Regions from separate parts of the Homo sapiens genome. Here regions 1, 2 and 3 are each linked to region 4. The links are contacts of gene promoters, found by promoter capture Hi-C in blood cells and fetal thymus (Javierre and others, 2016). All regions are on one chromosome and are shown on one strand. Each heading gives the region's core, a stretch centred on a gene start or on the middle of the fragment in contact. The rest is flanking DNA. Distances are from core to core; before and after follow the strand shown. Region 1 has its middle 240 kb from the start of LINC02398. Region 2 overlaps AEBP2 (AE binding protein 2). Region 3 overlaps LOC101928387 (a long non-coding RNA gene). Region 4 holds the start of PDE3A (phosphodiesterase 3A).

The links. Contacts are between HindIII fragments. The CHiCAGO score rates a contact against its expected background, and 5 or more counts as called.
Region 1: a fragment that was not itself captured here is called in contact with the fragment with the promoter of PDE3A in region 4 in 1 of 17 cell types (M2 macrophages); the score reaches 5.7 in M2 macrophages.
Region 2: a contact is called between a fragment that was not itself captured here and the fragment with the promoter of PDE3A in region 4, in 1 of 17 cell types (megakaryocytes). The highest score is 7.3, in megakaryocytes.
Region 3: a contact is called between a fragment that was not itself captured here and the fragment with the promoter of PDE3A in region 4, in 2 of 17 cell types (megakaryocytes and erythroblasts). The highest score is 12.1, in megakaryocytes.

Annotation. Positions count from the first base shown.
Region 1 is chr12:19,778,308-19,781,007 of GRCh38, reverse strand. No RefSeq gene overlaps it. Among named protein-coding and RNA genes, the nearest start is that of LINC02398, 240 kb to the left of the region's middle. The HindIII fragment of the contact is 1,498 bases long and covers 650-2,147 here.
Region 2 is chr12:19,506,680-19,509,379 of GRCh38, reverse strand. All of the region lies in intron 5 of AEBP2 (AE binding protein 2), which reads right to left. It also overlaps the pseudogene RPL34P25. Among named protein-coding and RNA genes, the nearest start is that of AEBP2, 69 kb to the right of the region's middle. The HindIII fragment of the contact is 1,145 bases long and covers 683-1,827 here.
Region 3 is chr12:19,572,146-19,574,845 of GRCh38, reverse strand. All of the region lies in intron 3 of LOC101928387 (a long non-coding RNA gene), which reads right to left. Among named protein-coding and RNA genes, the nearest start is that of AEBP2, 130 kb to the right of the region's middle. RefSeq lists an enhancer at 1,612-1,701. The HindIII fragment of the contact is 2,808 bases long and covers 25-2,700 here.
Region 4 is chr12:20,367,238-20,369,937 of GRCh38, reverse strand. PDE3A (phosphodiesterase 3A) reads right to left here and starts at 1,401. Exons shown (of 16, transcript NM_000921.5): 1 at 1-1,401. The coding sequence starts at 653. It overlaps PDE3A-AS1 (PDE3A antisense RNA 1), which reads left to right. Exons shown (of 2, transcript NR_186033.1): 1 at 1-97. RefSeq lists a silencer at 69-363. The HindIII fragment of the contact is 3,200 bases long and covers 1-1,659 here.

The DNA of each region.
Region 1 (2,700 bases), core at 149-2,648, 590 kb after region 4:
TTATCAAAAGCCTTTTCTGCCTCTATTTAGATTATCATGTGGTTTTTGTCTTTTGTTCTGTTTATGTGATGAATCACATTTATTGATTTGCCTATGTTGAACCAACTTTGCTTCCCAGGGATGAAGCCTACTTTATCATGGAGAATTAGCTCCCTGTATATACACCATTGATGTGCCGCTGGATTTGTTTTGCAAGTATTTTGTTGAGGATTTTTACATCAACGTTCATCAAGGATATTCGGCCAAACTGTTTTTTATATGTGTCCTGCTTCTTCTCACTGGGTGGGACCCCACAGCCTGGGACTCCAGCCAACCCCAACCAGGGCTCTCAGGCTGGTAGCAACTCGGCACTTCCCTAGGATGCAGTGTGAAGAAGGAGAGTCCGGCCACCAGTTTTTGCTGCCTTGCAGTCTCTGCTGCTATAGCCTTCAGGCTCTGGAGAGCAAGTGGTGATTAGGGAGTGGCATGGATCCCCCACACAGCGCAACTGACCCAAGGTAAAGTGGCCAGATTGTTTTTTACATGGGTCCCTGATCCCACTTCTCCTCACTGAGTGGGACCCATCTATCTGGGACTCCAGCCACTCTGTACTCACCACAACCAGGGCTCTCAGGCTAGTACAGATCTACACTTCCCTGAGACGGAAGCTTGCAGAGGGAGAGGCTGGCCACAGTTTTTGCGTCTTCCAGATCCTGCTGCTATTGCCTTCTGGTCTGGAGAGTACACGGTGATTAGGAAGTGGCATAGTTCCCCAGAACAGTGCAGCCCTCCCACAGAAAAGTGACTGGATTGTTCTCCACGTGGGCTTCTCTCTCAGCTTCTCATCACTGGGTAGGGCCACCCAACCTGGGACTCTAGCAAAACTACCCTGCCCCTTCCTGAACCCTTTAGTCAGAGGTGGGAGGAAATCCCAGAGACAACCCACAACCCCTCTGCCTCTGCAGCTACAGTAATAACACCCTAACCTCCCACAGGTTGGGGAAGGAACAGAAGGCACAATAGCTACGCTGGCAAATGCAACATACTGCAGCCACCAGACAAAAAGGAATCCAGTCTCTCTTCCTTGTGACACCCTCCCTCCCCACTGCCCCCAAAACTCTTCACCAGGCAGGGCCCCCGGCTTGGGACTGCAGAACAGCTGACCCACCCATGGTTAGGCATACCCACTGGTAGGGGCTGTTCTTCCCGGGTGAGGGGCTCCCAGAAGCAACCAAAAGCCCCCCTGCCACTGCCACAGCAATGATTCTGCCTCTGCTGCCCTCAGTCTGGAGAAAAAACAAAGAATCTAAGGGCTTCACCCGAGCTTCCAGCACACCAAGTGGAGAGGAGCCCAGTCTCTCATCCCTGTGAGCTGTGGACAAACCTCCTGCTCTTTAACAAGCAGAGCCCGGCTCAGGCTAGCAGAGCAGCTGCCCCACCCCATGGCCGAACATTCCTGGGAGCAGCAGCTTCGAATTTCTCTGAGGTGGAGCTCCCAGAAGCAACCAAAAACCCCCTTGCCACTGCCACTGTAGTGGTGCTGCCCTTGCTACCTTCAGACCAGGAAAGAAGCAAAGACGCTGAGTGCTTTAATCACACTTGCAGCGAATGGCAGTTGCGTTAAGGAGAAGAGGCCAGTTTGTCTCCCCCAGGTCCCACCCAAGGCCCCTGCTCATCACCAGGTGGGGCCCCATTAGTGTGGACCCACCGTTCAGCTGCCCCACCCCAGGCTAATTAAACTGATTGATAGCAGCTCTGCATGTTTCTGGGCTGGAGCCCAAAGAGACAAATCAAAGACCCTCTGCCACAACCACCGCTGAAGTCCCTTCCCCTGCTGCCTCAAAGCTGGGAAAGGAACATAAAGCCAGAAATCACCCTAGAGCTGTGGTGTGCAGCCCAGGAGTGCCAAGTTGAGACATGCAGCCAGCACTCAAGTGGGAGATAAACCCACACTTTCAGAGCACTGAGAGGGAGTACAACTGCAATTGTGAAGAAATACAGGGGAGCTGTGTTAACTGAGCAAGACCCTACCTACCGGCCATTACACTTAAGTGCCACCTACTGGATCACAGCACAAAACATCAATACCAAAAAATACTTTGCTAATATACTCACCGTGTGAAATCAAAAACAAGAATTTAGCTACAAATAAACACCTGAACAAAGCTTTGGCCCTCTGAAAACATCCAGAAAGGAAGTCAACTGACTGTACTCAACACCACAGTTAAAGGAACATCAGCTTGCTCACACAGATGAGAAATAACCAGCACAAGAACTCTGGCAATTAAAAAAGCCAGAGTGCCTTCTTTCCTCCAAATGCCCACACTGTCCTAACGAGGCTGAAATGGTTGAAATGATACAAATAGAATTCAGAATACAGACAGGAACAAAGATCATCGAGATTCAGGAGGACATTGAAATGCAATCCAAGGAACCTAAGAATCACATAATACAGGAGCCGTTAGATGAAATAGCCATTATAAAAAAGAACCAAAGTAATCTGATAGAGCTGAGAAACACACTACAAGAATTGCATAATGGGGGACTGGTCTAAAAAGAAAAAAAAAAGAATTGCATAATGCAATTGTGCATATTAACAGCAGAATAGACCAAGCTGAGGAAAGAATCTCGGAGGTCAAAGACTGGCTATCTAAAATGACCCAGGCAAATAAAAATAAAGAAAGAAGAATTAAAATGAACAACAACAACAAAAAACCCTCC
Region 2 (2,700 bases), core at 6-2,505, 860 kb after region 4:
TAAGAGAATGAAAATGCCATTTGTTTTACTAAGTATGTGGCTTAGCTTAGCCAACCAAAAGCATTCATAGTAGATGAAATTTTTTCAAGTCTTTTCATTTTTATTACTTAAAAAAGTTGCATTTTTCAATTTAGCTGACTCTGTGCTTGTGCCTTCAACACTTACACCCCAATTTTCTACTCCTTAATAAGGAAAGCATGTTTGATCCTGTCACAAACACATTTAGCACACATGGAACCACCACAGGCCCTGCTGACATGTTCTTTGCTTTGGACAATCTCATTAAGAACTTTAGGTCTCACAGCACGAACCCCTCCATGTCTGCCTGGGCACATGCCACATGCAGATTTTGGTGCTTTCCCAACGTTCTTAGTAAAAAGGTAAACAACTCTATTACCAAGGGTCTGGGACAGACTTGTTTTGTTAGAGGCTGTATTGTAGAAAAGCCTACGACAGTATGTCAAATGCTGGACCATTCTGAGTGCCTGCAGACAACGTTCCGGAAGAGGAAGAAGAAAGCCTTTGAAATATTTTTAAATGAATAAACAGTAAAGAAAAAATACTAATGAGAAGGAAAAGTCTCTAATTTACAACTTAAGGCATTTGTTTATCTCCTGGAGTTTTTTGCTGTAGTTGGTTTTATTTTAAATGAAAGGTAGGCCAATCAGTCTAGGTTTAAGCTTAAGGAATCTATGCAAGTTAACATCGATCTAACAGAAAGACCCAAAAAAGTATAAGAAAAGCAATATATTTTCCTTTCATTACCAGATTCTGAAAATTAAGATAATGCTTAAATAAAATAAAATCAGGCAAAACAATAACGTCAAACTCTTAAAATTTCCATATAAACAAAATTAGAACTTTAGTGTTTTAATAGTCTTAATCTCAATTTTTTTAATCAAGTTCCAACCACCCAAACAAAATAATCTTGTAATCCTGAAAACATATTAGGACTGAGTAAAAGCAGAGCTTTAAGCAAAAACAAAACACTGTCTCCACTATATAAAAACCTATGGTGAGGCCAGACGCAGTGGCTCACACCTATAATCCCAGCACTTTGGGAGGCTGAGGCAGGAGGACTGCTTGAGCCCAGGAATTCGAGGCCAGCCTGGACAACATGGTGAATCCCCGTTTCTAGTTTTTATTTTTTAAAATATGGTTTTTTTAAAAACAACAAAAAAAGTCTGTAGTCAAATAAATACTCTGATTCTAGACTTGGCAACAAAATTTAAAAGCCCAAACACAGGTCTGGAGCTGCTAAAACAAAATACCTCTACAATGAAATAATACACAAAAACAATGCAAGCCAACCAAGCACAGCAAGCCAACTGATTGGTAACTAGGATTTTGCTGACCTCTTCTGGAGAAGGCTCGAAAGAAAATATTTCAATTAATGAAATAAGGCACATTAGGCAAACCAAACAGTATAGTACCTCATAGCCTTCTTTTAACCAATTGTTTCATTATTTGTATTATTTTCTATAAAAGTTAATTTGATAACAAAGTAACTTAAATTTGCAGTTAGTACTGAATGTTTTTTACTACTAACAGAATTGATTCTGTTTAACATGTACTGCCTCCATCAAAACCTTCCCAGTTATAGAACTTTGGAGCTCCAATTTGCTCACCTAGCTCCTTTCCTTTCTATTGTGTCCAGCGAAGACCTTATCTCATTATGGATGTCTCTTCCTTCCACTTTCCTTCCCCAGGAAAAAAAATCATTCTTCAGATTACATTCCACCTTTGTGACTTTTCCTCAGTTAAGGTACCTCTGCCTCCTCACTGTGACTTAAGGGTGGACATCACTCATTCCTAGGTTTTTAAGCTTACAATATATGTAAGTGTCAATGTTCTTAAGCCCTCTCAGATGTTTTCCATAGCTCAAAAGCTTTTCATTTTCATGGACTATTTTGAGTCTGCGCAAATTTTTTATTTTCTTTCTAGACTTCTAATATTATTACCACTATTTTTGGTTCCTTCATTTTCCTTCTTTTGGAGCCATCGCTATTCCTCCCATGGTGAAGCTAAGGATTTCATCAAAAGGAGCTGCTCTAATGAAAGCATATGCAAGTTAGTGCTTCCCTTTTACATCACTTCTCCCTTATCTGTAGAGACACTAGCTCATTACTAGACCACCATTTCACTAAATCTATTGCCCTTTAAATCATTAAATGTTTGGTAAGCCCCAAACACTTCAATCCTTATGCTAACTTTCTCTTTATTTACACTTATTTCCTAGGTAATCTCATCCAGTCTGATACCTATAAATACCACAAATACACTAAAAATTCCCATATTTTCTATCTGTAGCCACACCTCTCTCCTCTGAGCTCTCAATTTATAGCCATCAGCCTAAGTGACAGAGCCACTGAATGCCCTATAGGCCTCTAAATATGTCCAAATTAGATCTCTTGATACTCCCCTCTCCCCAATCTGCTTGCCTGAGAGCCTCCACGGCTCTGCCACGGAGCTGCCCAGGCCAAAAAGCCTTGGAGTTGCTGTTACCTCTTATTCTAAAACCCAGTATCTCATCCATCCATAATTCTTGTCCATAGTAACTCCAAAAGATAACCAGAATCCAACCCTTATCTCCACTGCAAACATTCCAGTCTAAGCCACTATCATTCTCACTTGAAATACTGAAAAGACAAATTCCCCTTTACTCTCACCCCTGACTTTCTACAATTTGTTCTCAACACA
Region 3 (2,700 bases), core at 179-2,678, 800 kb after region 4:
TGATGGGTGAATTCTCTATAAGCTTCAGCTTGGCTCCCATTTGCTGCCTCAGGACAGCCACCAGTGAAACTCACCAGGTTCCTGATACCCACCTCATTTCTCTCCACCCTCCAGCAGAGGGCTTATCACCCCATAACTCTAATCTCCTGTAAACTCTAATCCCATAACCCAGATGTCCTCCTCTCCTCTCCCCAAGGCCACAGATGAGGCAATCTCATTCTTCCTCAAGTTTCTTGCTAATTATATAGCTATAGTATAATGTGCCTAGATTCTTTCAGTTCCTTTCTTTTGGCTCTCAAAATCCTGTTTGGAAGAAAAAATAAGAAAAAAAAAAAAAAAGGTAGAGTGCGCAGTGGCTAATGCCTGTAATCCCAGCACTTAGGCCGAGGCAGGAGAATTGTGTGAGCCCAGGAGTTTGAGCCTCGCACCACTGCACCTCACTGGACAAGACCCACTGGCCTGGGACCCTAGCGCAGCCAGCCCCGCCTAACTCTTAGGTGGGGGGCAACTCTCCACTTCCCTGGGCCACGGCTCCTAGAGGATGCAGGCAGGCCACCATTTTTGCTGCTCTGCCATCCTCTCTCCTGTTGCCCCCCAGGTTCCTGAGGGAAGCTGTGATTAGGAACTAAGACAGGCCTCCAGCACAGCAGCGCTTCGTGGAAAAGCTGCCAGACTGTTTTCCATGGGGTGACAGCCCTTGCTCCTCCTCACTGGGCAGGGCCTCCCAACCTGGGCCCCCGCACGACCAGCCTGAACTAGGGAAGGAACAAAGGGCCTGCTCGCTACTCTGGAACCTCGAGCGAGCGCATGGCAGCCACCATGCAGAGAGAAGCCCAGTCTCTCTTCCCTGAGAGCCCCCACCCCCACTCTTCACCAGGCAGGGCCCCCAGCTCTGGACCACAGAGCAGCCGCCCCACCCCCGGCTGAGCACACCCATTTTGCTGGGGGCTCTGAGTTTCCCTGGAGAGGGGGGGCGGTCCCAAAGGCAACCGACAGCCCCTCTGTCGCAGCCACTGCATCGGTTCTGCCCTTGCTGCCCTTGGACTGGAGAAGGAACAGAGCCTGGAAATTTTACTGGCGCCTCCAGCACGCCACAGTCACCGCAGAGAGAGGGGCCCAGTCTCCTTTCCTGTGAGCCCTCGGCCCCCACTCTTCACCAAGCAGGGCCGGCTCAGGCCAGCAGCGCAGCCGTCTCACCCCCTGGCTGAACATTCCCATTAGCAGCAGCTCTGCGCATCTCCAAGATAGAGAGCTCCCAGAGACAACCAGAAGCCCGTCTCTCACTGCCACCGCAGCGGTCCTGCCCTTGCTGCCTTCAGATTGGGAAAGGAACAAAAACCCTGAGTGCTTTACCCACACTTCCAGCACACCACAGCCGTCCTAAGGAGAAGAGGCCAGTCTGTCTCTCCTGTGAGCCATCGGCCCCCCTGTTCACCACCAGGCCGGGCCCCTTGGCTTAGGCCCACAACCCAGCCACCTCACCCTCGGCCAATCCCGCTGATTGGGAGCGGCTCGGCATTTCTCTGGGATGGATCCCCAAGAGACAAGTGAAAGGACCTCTTCCACAGCCACCGCCAAGATCCCTTCCCCTGCTTCCTCCAAGCTGTGGAGGGAACATAAAGCCTGAGCTCGGCTCAGGACTTCAGTGTGCAGCCCGGGAGTGGCAAGCCGAGATCTGCAGCCAGAATCGAGGAGTAGAGGAGCCCAAACATTGGGAGTGCTGAGAGGGAGTACAACTACAAACACAAGGAAATACAGAGGACCCACATGGCTGAGCAAGAGCCTACCTAATTGGCCATTACACTTAAGCGCCATCTGCTGGATCACAGCCCAAATTTCAACACCAAAAACGTTTTGCTAATACATCCTCCTGTGAAACCAAAGATAAGAATTCACCTGTTAATACAAATAAAGACCCTGCACAAAGCCTCGGCCCTCTGAAAACATCCAGAAAACTGACTGTACTCAAATTACAGCACAGATAAAGGAACTTCAGCCCAGATGAGAAAGAACCAGTGCGAGAACTCTGGCAACTCAAAAAGACAAGAGTGTCTTCTTTCCTCCAAATGATGGCACTGGTTCCCCAGCAAGGGTTCTTTAACAGATTGAAATGGATGAAATGACAGAGCCAGAATTCAGAATATAAATAGGATTGAATATCATCAAGACTGGGGAGAAAGTCAAAACCCAATTCAAGGAATCTAAGGATTGCAGTAAAACAATCCAGGAGCTGAAAAATGAAATGGCTTTTATAAGAAAAAACCAAACTGATCTAATAGAGCCAAAAAACGCATTACAGAAATTATATAATACAATCACAAGTATTAACAGCAGAACAGACCAACCTGAGGAAAGAATCTTAGAGCTTGAAGACTGATTCTCAAAAATAACTGTCAGAAAAAAGGTATAAAGAAGAATAAACAAAAACTACAAGAAATATGGGATTATGTAAAGAGAGAAAACCTATGACTCACTGGCATCCCTGAAAGAGAGGAAGAGAAAACAAACAACTTGGAAAACGTATTTGAGGATATCATCCAGGAAAATTTCCCCAGCCTCGACAGAGAGACCAACATTCAAATTCAGGAAATGCAGAGAAATGACCATCTCCAAGACACATAATCATCAGATTATCCAAGGTAAACATGAAAGAAAAAATATTAAAGGCACCTAGAGAGAAGAGGCAGGTCACCTGCGACG
Region 4 (2,700 bases), core at 152-2,651:
GTCAAGGCGATCATGAGGACGCCCAGCCTCAGCCTCAGCACCAGCCATGTCGCGGCGGCCAAGCAGCTGAGCACCACCCCCGCGGCGGGGAGTGAGAGTAAGTGATCCTCCCCGACGCCCAGCCCAATCTGGACGAGCGCTTCCCCCCCGCAGCAGGCGGCCAGCAGCGCGACAGCCAGAGGCAGGCGCACCCCGGCGCGCAGGAGGTACAAGCCCATCCAGAAGAAGGCACACAGGAGACTGAAGAGCAGCGCCGAGGGCTGCAGCCAGGGGCTGAGCCGCGCACCGCCCCCGGGAGCACCTCCCCGAGGCCCCGGGAAGACGCCCCCTTCTGCTCCCGGGGCTGCTTCCTCCTCCTCCGCCGCCGCCGCCTCCTTACACTGCTCCAGGTCACAGCCGACCTCCCCGCGGACCAGCCTCACCAGCAGCGCCAGCAGAAAGGACAGGGAGCCCGCGCACAGCGCGGAGGAAAGTTTCCGAGAGCTCCGGAGCGGCTGCAGCACCAGGTCTCCCCAGCAGCCACGGCAGCCCGAGTCCCGCGGCGATGCGGGGTCCGCACGATGGTGGCAGTCCCGGCCCGCCGTGGGGGCTTGACTCACCCCACTGTGGACGGGCTTGTCCCTGACTCGTGCAGCGTCGCCGGGCACTGCCATGGTATAGGGTGCCCTCTTCACTGAATTCCCAGTGGCCCCCCGACGCCCCCGCCCCGACCCACGCGCGCGCGCGCACACACACACACACACACACGCACGCACGCTCTTCCCAATTCCACCCTCGGAATCCTTCTTCTCCCCAGGCCCACAATCCACTGAAAGTTTCAGCTTTCGAATAACTCCTGGAGAATGCTAGATGCTCCAATGAGACTTCTTCAAGTTAAAGGCTAGCACGCTCAAGTTGAAAACAAGCACGGGCAGAAACGATCAGGATTCCCCTTTTCTCTCTTTGAATATCTTTCACAGATTCTCTGCTCCACCCCCACCCCCGACTTATATCCTCCGGGGTCTCTTCCTACTTCAGGATTTCAAAAATTGCCCAATGCATCCCGCGCGCAGGAGCCGCTGACGCTGGAGGAGCCGGGGGCGCAGGGCGGGCTCCGGGCCATTCCGAGGCGCAGCTCGGCGCTGCGCTGCGCTGCAGCGCGCCGGGCCCGCGGCAGATGGAGGTCTCCCTTCTCCTCCTTCCTGCAGCTCTTTTTCTATCACTCTTTCTTTCTCCTCGGCCGATTCTCCCCGGCACGGCCCCAGGACGCGAATCGCCATTCCCTGGGGCAGAAAGCAAAGCCTCCCCCGCCTCTGTCAATCCAATTCATGGCAAAGGATGGAAAAAAAAAAATGGACAAGGGGCTGAGAAATAAGAAGTTGCTAAGTCCCGTCGGAGAGAGAGCCAGACCGAGAGACTAGCGGCAGCCGCAGAAGGGAGGGAGGGAGAAGGAGCGAGTAAGAGAGGAAGGGAGGGTGAGAAGAAAGGGAGGGTGAGAAGGGAGAAGGAGATTTGCTTTTTTTTTCCCTCCCCACTTCTATTTGATGCAAGGTTGGTGGTGATTTGCAGTTTTGCAAAGGGGAAACGAGTGGCGACGACTGCTTAAAATTGTATAAAACTGGCAACTGGAGTGATCGACAATTCCGCTTTCTTTCTTTAAGGCAACTCCCTAGGAAAGCTTTCTCAGCCGAGCTCCCGCCCCCTCCTGCGGAGGAGGCGCTACCCTCAGCTCGATTGCTCCTTTGCTGGGAAAGCGGCCGGTTCACCCTACAGGCTGGAGCAGGGGCTGCTGAGGCTGATCCACCGCGCAGCCCACCGCAGCCCCGGGGTGTGGGGGGCTGCGGCTAGCCCTGAGGCTGAGCTCCCTAGAACGTTGGAAGGAAAAAAAAAAAAAAAAGATTGTGTTTGCCTACTTGGCAGATGAGAGCCAACATACTTTCTACTGTCCCTGAAAATGACAGCCACTTCTACTGTCTGATTCAAAGATGTTCCCAAGTCAGGTACAACAGCAGTCCAATTTCAGGTGACAGTGTCATCCTTTGGTCGCTCCTGCTGGAAGGTCTGCTTTATGAGAACCCAAGCCTGGCCTGTTGGTTCAAATGATGGAAGAATCAGCCTTACCTAGACCACAATAGTATAAAAAGAAAGGAAGGAGAGGCAGCAGTCATTTAAATCCAGTGCATGAGTATTACACAATAGTTTTTGACTGTGGAAAGTAAAATTACATTGAGATTAAGTGACCGTATCCTCAAAAAAGGTTAACAAAGTTTAAAAGCCCAGATAGTTCATCAAAAAATAAAGAAAAATCTCAAGGGAGAGGTGAGGATAGGTGGGTTAACACTAGGAGAGATCTTAGAAGACTGTCTATGGCTGCAAAATACTACATCTTCGAGCAAAGCATATGAAAAAAATCAGGACCTTAGTTATTAATGAGTAAAGGTTCGTGTACTGCAGCAGTGTGATATTTGAGAAACTAAAAGAAAATTTTCAAGCTAACCTTTTTTTGGCAGATTATGAAAAAGAATTCAGTATCTGTTCAATGGACTTAAACTCTATTGATGTTCCCTGGGATCTAGTTGTCTTTTTAATATGATACTCCACTTTTAACATGGCTATCTTAGATGTCATTTGCCCTCACTAATAATAATCTTAATAATCCAATTTTGTCTTAATTATCTTGACATTCCAGGTTAAAGTGTATTTACAGCCTAGAGCATTTAG